Regions from separate parts of the Homo sapiens genome. Here region 2 is linked to region 1. Evidence: promoter capture Hi-C in 16 types of primary human blood cells and fetal thymus (Javierre and others, 2016). All regions are on one chromosome and are shown on one strand. The core of a region is centred on a gene start or on the middle of the fragment in contact, and the rest is flanking DNA. Distances in the headings are between cores, read along the strand shown.

The links. The method cuts DNA at HindIII sites, captures the fragments that hold promoters and counts their contacts. A CHiCAGO score of 5 or more calls a contact.
Region 2: a contact is called between a fragment that was not itself captured here and the fragment with the promoter of RYR2 in region 1, in 1 of 17 cell types (erythroblasts). The highest score is 5.9, in erythroblasts.

What each region holds. Positions count from the first base shown.
Region 1 is chr1:237,040,836-237,046,140 of GRCh38, reverse strand. RYR2 (ryanodine receptor 2) reads right to left here and starts at 3,957. Exons shown (of 105, transcript NM_001035.3): 1 at 3,572-3,957. The coding sequence starts at 3,619. The HindIII fragment of the contact is 4,786 bases long and covers 2,173-5,305 here.
Region 2 is chr1:236,761,217-236,766,184 of GRCh38, reverse strand. ACTN2 (actinin alpha 2) reads right to left here. Exons shown (of 21, transcript NM_001103.4): 21 at 1,554-3,724. The coding sequence ends at 3,566. Among named protein-coding and RNA genes, the nearest start is that of MTR, 32 kb to the left of the region's middle. The HindIII fragment of the contact is 962 bases long and covers 2,524-3,485 here.

The sequences.
Region 1 (5,305 bases), core at 2,708-5,207:
TTTAAAGATGCTTCTTGTCATTGTGGAACAAGATGTATGAACACTGAGAAGAAATCTATAATGAAATACTTCATTCTGCAAAAGAAGACAGGAGGAAGACCGTAAGCATTCCTATCAGGATCATTCTTACAGCCAGGACTAAGCTTTAAGTCTCAATCTATGGGTAAATACAAAACTACATGACACAGTACACCACAAGGGTAACTCAACTGTGCTTAGACAAATGAAAGAAAGACAAAGTACTCAAAAAAAAAAAAAAAAAAAAAAAAAACCTTGACCAAGGTCATTTTATACCATGGTTTTCCTAAAGTCAGAGGAATATCTTCTATAACATTCTGTATGATTGTTGGAAAAAAAAAAAAAAAGAGGACCATAACGAAAAAGATGCGTGTTTTTAAATGCCAAATGACAGTTTGATGCTACATTGGTAAGTTAATAAAATCTTTAAAATAAAACACACATTCCAAATCATGGATATGTTTGGATATGACAGTGAATGAATCCATTACAAGCTGACAGCTTATTTTATGATAGGATTTTTCTCTCATAAAATAAGTGTCCCAGCATATCCAGAGTTTACAAAAACATATTTTCAATCTCTCTCAAAGATAAACAGACCCAAGTGGGCAGGTTTCCAACAGATGGGGGAGCCACTGAATCAATGATCATTCATCTACATAACTATTTGGAAGGAATGTGAGCCAACTCGACAAGCAGCAGCAAATGGAACAGAGATGCCAGAGAGACAGGTACAAGCTAAACAGTGACAAACCCCTTTGCAAATGAGGAATTAATTTACAGCAGCATACATAACTCACAGATACAGCCCATTAAAGATTTCACCTCTACTTCCCTTAACAGTGATCTCACACCTCTTCTAAAAAAAGAAAAGCAAAAAAGCTTTCTGTGGACAGTGGTCAAAAAGATGCCTCAATGTGCTGGGGTGCTGAATACAAATCCAATAGACAATGACCTGCTCAAGATAATAATCCAGATGTTCTAATCAGGACATATGAAATGTCCCATCAAATTCACAATTACGGTGTCTTAATGACTGTTTTTGTTTTTCTATGCAAAACAGCTTCATCCATCACTATCAAGAATTCTTCCATCTACAACTGTTTTATCAAGATGTACAGATTCCTAATACTCCTTGGGCTATTTGCTTTAAAAAAAAAAAAAAAGAAGAAGAAGAAGAAATAACTCATATTGACAAGCTTGCACATGACAGAGAAATAAATGCCCTCAGAAAAAAAAGAAGCGACTTCAATGTGGGAACTATACTACAGTCTCCCCATTATTCACCCCATCAGCATTTCTGAACCACCAACATTCTCAGGTTAAGAGAAAAAAAAGGGGGGTGGGGGAGGGAAGGATGGAGGGTAATGGGTGGAGAAGCCGGTAAAGGATTTGAGAATTTCCATATGAAAATTGGAAAATTGTGAGGAAAGGCATGTTTTCCTTTTAGATGTTAATGCTATACCAAAAAAAAAAAAATCCCCCTGCTCCACTGTGTCACCTCCTTCAAGGTCATTTGTCGTCAGCACAGCAACCTACGGATGTTTTATTAAAAGAAAAATCCCAGCCTGGGACTGCCAGATCTCTACCCAGGACCCACTTATCAAAGGTGCTGCTCTAGCTGACAGGCAGCTGCTGAGTGGCACAGAGTTGACATTACTTGATATGTGCAGAACCTCATCAGCCAGCACGTTCCCTCGGTCCCCATTAAGCATTCTGATAACACCACCTCCATGAGCTCGGCTTAACAGTTAAGCCCGCAGGAAGCCCTTGAGTGCATGAAGCCTACCAAAATGTCCCAGCTAGTTTTAACCCCACAGAGTTTGATACGAATTGATTGAAAAATTATACAGCAACCGTATTTGTCCACCTGAATAAAATAGTCCTTAGTTTTGAGAAAAATCTAATGTGGTGTTAATTACTTAAAAAAAAAAAAACCCTTATAGTCTATTTTCTATGAAAAAGACAACTGTATTACTAGCAGGTTTATACACCGTGACCAAGGTATTAGTGAAGAGGCTCTTCCAAGCCCGGTCTTGGGCCAACAGTACTTCAAAAAGCATATGCAATGGTGCATAACCTGCAGCTATTAGACTGGATTACTATTAGGTTGTCATCTGATGTGGACCCTGGGTTTTTATCCTTCCCAAAGCTTTCTCCCAGTCCGTTTAATGCACAAAAGAGAAAGAGACAGTCGTTTACAACGTTCCTTTGCAAATTCGCTGTTTTCATATGTTTAGTACCCAAATACATCAAGACTATTTTCACACCTAAAAGTTAATATTCCAAAATTCCACCGTATCTACGATTTTCTGTGATTATAGGTAACTGTAACCGGGAAGTGGTTTTGTTTGTTTGTTTGTTTTGTTTTGTTTTGTTTTTGTACTGCTGAGGAAAGAAGTACCAGCAGAAGCTGCAGTTCTAGGTTGGGGAAGTCTGGGGAATCCTGCAAGGGAACATCCTTCGGGAAGGAGGACAGAAGTGGAGAAGGAACGACTGAAAGGATGCTAACTAGGTTATTATTAGCAGGAAGTTAGGGCATTTTCTTTTCTGGAGAGGCTCTCCAGTCCCAGCTTGGAGGTGTGCAATGCCTCAGCCTGGGAAGTATCTGCAGTGTTCGAACAAATGAGAGAAAGGAAGGAGCAGTGCCAAGAGGTACTTAAGGAGAAAGAATTGTATTAGTGTGGAGCCAACCTTTCCCGGGCAGCCACCCTGCCCTTACACTTACACACACACACTTTGCTTCACTTGGCATGCAATAAGCCAGCATTTAGAGAACGACACGTTCACGATGTTCTCCCCACCACCACCCGCGCGCGCGCACACACGCAAACACACGCTCGCTTCCCATGCCTTCCACGCTTTGCAAGCGGTCACAGCACCACCACGGATGGCACCAGCCCCGGGAACCGCGGGGACCACGGAGGCGACTCCTCCTCCGCTTTCGCAGCACCTTGACTTGGGGGAAACCTCCGCGCAGCGTCCTGCACCATCACCCCCGCCCCCGGTCAGCTGCGCCGCACGCTACACGGAGTAAGCGAACCAACGTCTTCGCTCCGTGACAACGCGCGGGTCCAGCCCGAAAGCCCAAGAAACCTCCCGGCGGCGGTATTCCCAGAAACAGCCCGAGTTCCCGCCGCTCCCCGCGCCCCCACGGGCCACCCTGCTCTGCACCCTGCCCCCGGCCGCCCGGGAGGTCCCAGCCGTGCCACCAGGCAGGCCGGACCGGCCGTCCCCTCCTCTCCCGGTTCCCGCAGCTCCGACGCTCCTGTCCCCGGTGCCCCGGGTCCGAGCCCGGGCGCCTGCCGCCGGCTAGCCGCGCTCCATCCTCTAGCTTTCCACACGCGCGCACAGACACGCGCCCTTGCCTTCCCTCGCCCCAACACGCACACCTGCACACACTTGGTGATGCCCGCTCCTCCCGCATCCTCAGGGGGCACCCCCTCGCCCCGCCCGCGAGTCCCCGCTGCCCGCTGTCACTCTGCCCGGACCCCGCTAGTGGATGCCCTGACGCCCCCTTCCCCTGACAGCACACGCGACGCACGGCGCTTACAGTTCGCAGGAACTGGATCTCGTCTTCGCCCTCGCCCCCATCGGCCATGGTTCCGCGCCTCCTCGCCGGGGCCGGCTCCCGAGCCCCGCGGAGCTCGGCGGCGGCGGCGGCCCCTGGCGCTGCCTTCTGCTTCTGCTGCCGGGAGCCGGGGGCTGGAGGGGGCCGCGCTGCCGGGTGCCGAGCGCCGGGCGGTCCCCGCCTGCAGAGCGGAGGAGGAGGCGCGGACGCTCGGGCGCGGGTGGTCGAGGCGCGGGGCCTCCCTGCTCCGCACTGTGCGGGAGGAGGGCGGCCCGGGCCCGGAGGACGCGGGGAAGCAGCCCCGCAGCCCAGCCGCGCTCGCTGCCTGCAGCCGGCGGTCCGCTCGGCCCCGGCTCCTCCGAGCAAGTGCGCGGAGCCAGCTGAGCCGGGGTTAGTGCAGCGGTGGGGGTGGGGTGTGGGGGCGGGCGGGGAGGAGCTCGGCGGCTCCCCGCTGCTGCAGGTAATCCGCAGCCCGCTCCTCCGGGCCGCCAAACCCGAGGCCCAGCGCCACTTACTGGCTGCGCTGGGAATCGGGGCCGGAGCGCACCCGGCGAGCGCACAGCCTCCTACCTGCGCCCCGCTGGGGTCCCTGGGCTCATTCCCCTGCCCCTTCCGAGCTTAAAACCGCCGGCACGACGCCCCTTCCTCCTGGACTGGGCTAGGGCACTAACTTCCACGGCACTTCGGATCGCACGGAAGAATGATATCTTTCACCTGGGCGCACGGGGTGGCTAATCTCCAAGTAGAGATTACGCAACACCTGGTATTTTAAACGTGGATTACCTCTATTCATGATCAAATGGGAATTCTTCAAGATCTAGTTTTAGTGTACCATGCTTTTCGCAGATAATCGATGCAAAGTGCACGGTTTTGGTGCACAGAACTTTAACATTCAACAAATATACAGTGAGCGCCTATGCCAGACAATGTGGTACAAGACAGACCCAGAAGTGTGTAGTCTGTATTCGAAGTGCAAGCCTTAATTCAACAAGGAATTGCGGTAAAGTATGGGATACTATCTATAAGTCTGAACCACTGGATGGGTCTAAAGTCAGACTGTGCTACCCATTATCCTTGCTGAGAGAAGAAATTCGAGCATTCCACCGCAGATAGTAATATCTTGCTCTCGCAATCCTCCATGCAATAGTCTACCAAATGCCTACTTAACAAACGGCTATGACTAAGAAAATACAGGGTCTGAGACAATTTGGACAAGAAAGCAATTTGTCTCTTGTTCCTAGTCCACAGCGCTTTCATTTATCGTACTTAAAATAAGTATGTGCAAAGTAAAGTTTTCAAATGTCAGTACTACGGAGATGCAGACATTGTAAAACAAGGATTTTTGCGTCCGTTTACCTACATCTTACATTCTGCGGCATCTAACTCATTATTAAAATCGACCACTGAGTTCTATACAGTTTATATTTTATTTTTAGCATTCATTAACTTTGTACTTACTGGGGTAGGTTTGTAAATTTCCAGGAGAATGACAATATGTGTATAAATACTCGCTGTCCGTGGTAGAACTAGTAATGTTCTGCCCTATCTCATGGAAGTATACCAGTCACCTTACCTAAAAACTTGACCTATCCCTGTAGCCATGACGACTAACCAACTCTTAAACCGTTATTATTTATGTGAATGTTTACTCTTACGAGTCTCTAAAGGAACAACCAGTGAGCTCCCAAAAAGTCGGGTAAGAGTCCTCCATGAGCA
Region 2 (4,968 bases), core at 1,755-4,254, 280 kb after region 1:
AAGGATTGAGTTATTAATTAATGAATCTAAAAAGGAAAAACGACGCTGTCTTCTCTGCTGACTCCATCTGAAATATGAAAATGTCTCAGAGCAGTATAATTATTGTGTAGGCTCCAGGGAACCCGAAAGAGCTCAAGGACACAGTGGGAACTCAGTGTCTTCTTGTCAAATAATCCAGGGAAGCTGTGGGTGAATCTTTGTCAGCCTGGTAACAACTAGCAACTTCTGAAAATACATGTTTCTGACTCCGTATCACTTAGATTTGTTTCCTTTCATATGAAGCCTGTAAAGAGCTCATTTCCAGCTTATTTCCATGAACATAGATGAATCTGGTATACAGCAGGAATGAATACCAAGCCAAATGCTCTAATTTAAAACTCAGTTATGTCAAGCATTTCTGTATTACCAACCAGATGGCACAAGGGTTTGCCTGGCCATTTGTATTGCTCAACTATTAACCTTGCCAGTAAGGTCTTCTCTAATCATTTTATTAGACTTTTTTTCTTTTTTTTTTTTTTTGAGATGGAGTCTTGCTCTGTTGCCCAGGCTGGAGTGCAATGGCACTATCTCAGCTCACTGCAAACTCCACCTCCCAGGTTCAAACGATTCTCCTGCCTCAGCCTCCCGAGTAGCTGGGACTACAGACGCACACCATCAAATCCGGCTAATTTTTGAATTTTCAGTAGAGACGGGGTTTCACCATGTTGGCCAGGATGGTCTCGATCTCTTGACCTCATGATCTGCCTGCCTTGGCCTCCCAACATGCTGGGATTACAGGCGTGAGCCACCACGCTTGGCCGTTTTAGACTCTTGATTCTTAATGACCTTTCCTTTGCCTCTAATCCACGGGTTCTCATGGGGGGTTATTAGAAATTCCATGGAGTTTTAAAAAACTGCAGATGTCCAAGTCTTACCTAGACCTTCACAGCTTGAGACTCTGGGATTAGGGCTGAGTATGCATACATTTTAGAAAATATTTACTGAGGATTCTGAAGTGATCTCTTGGTTAAAAATTCCTTCCTAATCTATTCATCACTGATTTTTTTTTTTTTTTTTTTTTTTTTGAGATGGAGTTTCACTCTTGTTGCCCAGGCTGGTAGTGCAATGGCTCCATCTCGGCTCACTGCAATCTCCACCTCTTGGGTTCAAGTGATTCTCCTGCCTTAGCTGCTGAGTAGCTGGGATTACAGGCATGCAACCAAACCCGGCTAATTTTTGTATTTTTAGTAGACATGGGTTTTTGCCATGTTGGCCAGGCTGGTCTTGAACTCCTGATCTCAAGTGATCCGCCCACCTTGGCCTCTCAAAGTACTGGGATTACAGGTGTGTGCCACCATGCCCCGGGCCATCCATCATTCACTTCTAAATGGTTCATTGTTAATTCTCCATCTTATGTTCACCCTCTACCCAGTAAGCCTGTCTCTAATTCTTTAAGGGAGGCAAATACTAACCCAATGACTGTTTTTAATTCTCATGGAACCTTTAAGTGAGGAAGTTTGTTTGTAGTTAACCAAAGTAATGGTTATTTTTTGAAATAACAAAAATAGGGATTCTTTTTTCTTTTATAAATTAAGTTTAATTTAGAAACTTATAAACGTTTTAATTTTTGAGCATCCAGCTTCAGAAATAAAAATAATACCTAAAATGAGAGTATAAACATGTTTATTATTTTTCAGAGTTTACTTCCTTTCTTCATTTATTAGCAGATAGAGACTACTGACCCCCTCTCTTGCTGAATGTTGTAAAGAAATTAAAAGTTTAGGTAGATGAGTTACCCACACCCATCCTAAAACACCACAGAGCCCCCTAATAGCCTCAAAGGAAGCACAACTTTCTGGCTTTTCTATAGGGGTTTATGGCCGGGATATAGCACCTACTTGAAATAAAATAGAGTCAGAGTTCATCTAAACCACCCCAAAAGTGTTTGGCATTAAACTCAAGGATTCAAATATTTCAGGAATCTGGAAACTACCAATTACTTAATAATGAAGCAAATTAAGTGAAATTCATAAAGGTTGAAGGTTCTAAATGGCCCAGTGTAGGAAGAAGAGTCAAGCTGTCAGACAGCTTGGAATGGAAATATTACATTTCCAGCTGTTGGTGGAAATCTATAAAAATCTGAGCAAACAGACTGTAGGTAACAGACATGTTACTGCTTCTCTAGTAATGCTTTAATTGCTGTTTGCAACTGTTTTTGTTTGTTTGTAATCCATTTCCTGATCATTAAGGACTCAGATATAAAAAGAATTCCTGCTTTATTCTCTACAAGCTGTCAACAAGATGGAAAAACAGGGGGGAATTATAGCCTACAGCAGTATGAGCAAAAAGAAAGAATGAACATTCAACAGATCAAGATGTGCTAGCAGGAGTGCATGTAGCATCCTGTGTCATGGAGCAGGCCTTTAGACACAGAACCAGACATGGGACTTGTTAGGATACACTGTCCAATCCCAGGGGTGAACACACACCGCACACTAGCTAAAATATCTAGTTATTCCTACTACACAAAACATATGTAAAGCTTCCGCAAAAGAAAGAACTCACCTCCACTGCTGCTGAGAATTAGTCCTCTCCTACTCTAACTCTGGCTTCTCCTTAACCGGTCATAAAACTAGAGGCATAAGGAAGTCCTGACTGGAGAGCTAGAAGGATACTGGTTTCTGACTTGCCTTGTGATGAACCAGTCAGTACTACAGAAACCTGCTTATTTATAAACAGAGCACTTTTATGTGGTCATCTCTTGAGAACCTGTACTAATAAGCTCTAACAAAAAGCATGGGAACCTGGAATCAATAAATAATCCTAAAAACCTCATTTTACCTAGTGATTGCATCCTTCTCTCTGGCAATTAAACTGACTTCCACGTGTCCTTAGGTCTCTATTCTGGAGGATAAGAGAAGCATCAAAAAATCACTGACTGAGTTGACCATCCAGCCCTAAATAATGAAGAGATGACATAAACTATTTTAAAAATTGTAAGTGCCAAAAATCTTTTGGGTAGTCTTTTTAATCCCCGGCAGTTCCATCTCACAATATTAAATTCATTTGAAGATACAATAGTAATCTTTGGATAAGCATGAAAATAAAACATTAGAATCCCAAATATACTCCCCTAGGGGCAATCACATAAGCATATTAGAGATAAATGAAATTTTTTACAAATAGCAAACCTTTATTTACCAATTTGTGGTTTTTTCCCCCCGGTCTTAAATCTTGGGTATTTTGTATTTTCACATTTTTCACTTTCCTTCTGTCCCTAGATCCTCCTAATTTCCTATTACTCAAGTAATTTGTTCTGTTTAATCAAAGAAATCAACCTGATATTTCATTACATTTTGCTAAAAACTCAGAAATAAACCTATTTATGAAGCGCACTATGTCATATACTGTAAAAACTTCATTTTAGCCGTGTTATATTGCTGGCAATTACTGAACTACGAAAGGCTTTTTTTTTTCCCCTCTCTCTCTCTCAACTTAATAAAGCTTGTCAAAGTTTCCAGGAAACAAACTGTGACTTCCGCTTTTATTGCATTCTGATGGGATGAGTGATTACAGAAGCTCAGCATCACAGATCGCTCTCCCCGTAGAGTGCGGAAGAGAACGCAGCGTAATCCAGTGCACCAGGCACACTGCCTGGGCCCGAGTAGGCGGGCATCCTCTTGATGCAGTACTGGGCCTGATCCGGGGGCAGCTCCCGACGCAGCTCCTCCGCCAGGATGTATGGCTGGGAAAAAATACACACGTGTTTGCAGTCAGTTGCAGAAACACCACAACATAAACAGTCTTAATACTTACATATTTCTTGCATCTGTTTAATTTTTTAAAAGGACTAAAGAATAGGGAGTCTATTGGCATAGTAGTACCAGACAACCAACAGAAAGCCAAGTTTTACTTGTAGGAGCGTATCTAGAAGCGGCCTGGCCAGCAGGAAGGGTGATATGCTTCATAAAGGCAAATGGAGCATTACTAGTAGTTCTCAAACTGAGCCACAATGCGAGGATACGTACTATGATCTGCATTTCATACCAGAAAAGATGAAGCTTTTAAAAAAAAAGTTCAGTGGGAAATAGGACAATTCCAGCCAAATAGTCTGGTTGGTAAAAGTCAAAATAAGTAAATCTCAAATATCACATTATAATTTATATCATTATAGTTTGCATATTATATAATTTATAGTAGAAGTTTCTTAGTGGGGTTGGAGGAGCCATGGTTTCTTACCTTCTAAATCAGCTGGGCTATTTCCCATCCACCCTCACCCCATGGGTAAATGATTCATTTTAAAGAAAACATTATTTTAAAAATAGTTGGTCTTATCTGATTTTTAAGGTAATAAATATGGCTCTGTTACTGTGTTTTAGCATGCTAACCTCCTTGTGGTAATGTTCATTATCCTCTCAGCCAGAAAACAGGGTAAAATAATCCTGTCCCAAATTGAATTTATACATAGAGATGTTTTTATTGTTTGGGGGGTAAAATATTACAATTCTGAACTGGCAATTAAACTCCTCCTGAAGGTCTAGGCTACATGTAATGAAAAGCTTGCCAATTTTTTACTGACTGAACGGCTATATTTAACTTTGCTCCATGGCTGGGCACAAAGTCAGGGTCATTGATCCTTAGGAGAAGGTACCAGTTTTATAACATCTAAATTGCATAGTTTCTTCTTTCTGAGTCACATCCACCAACCTAGAATGTAAAACAGGGGTCGAACCAGTAGCGCGCACATACACACACACACACACACACACACACGCAAGTACAAATACACTCTTGTCCCTTCTATAAAAACTCAATGCAAGGCCAAGCACGAATGCCAGGAATGGCATGTCTGTTTCCTCTGTGCTGGGCGCGCCATTGTTGTGTGTCTATCTGCTGCCTTCTGAAATCAGTGCCAATGTTGTACAAAATACACCGGCATAAAAATGGTTTTTATTTACAACACTGTTGCCTTTTTTGTTAGAAGGATGT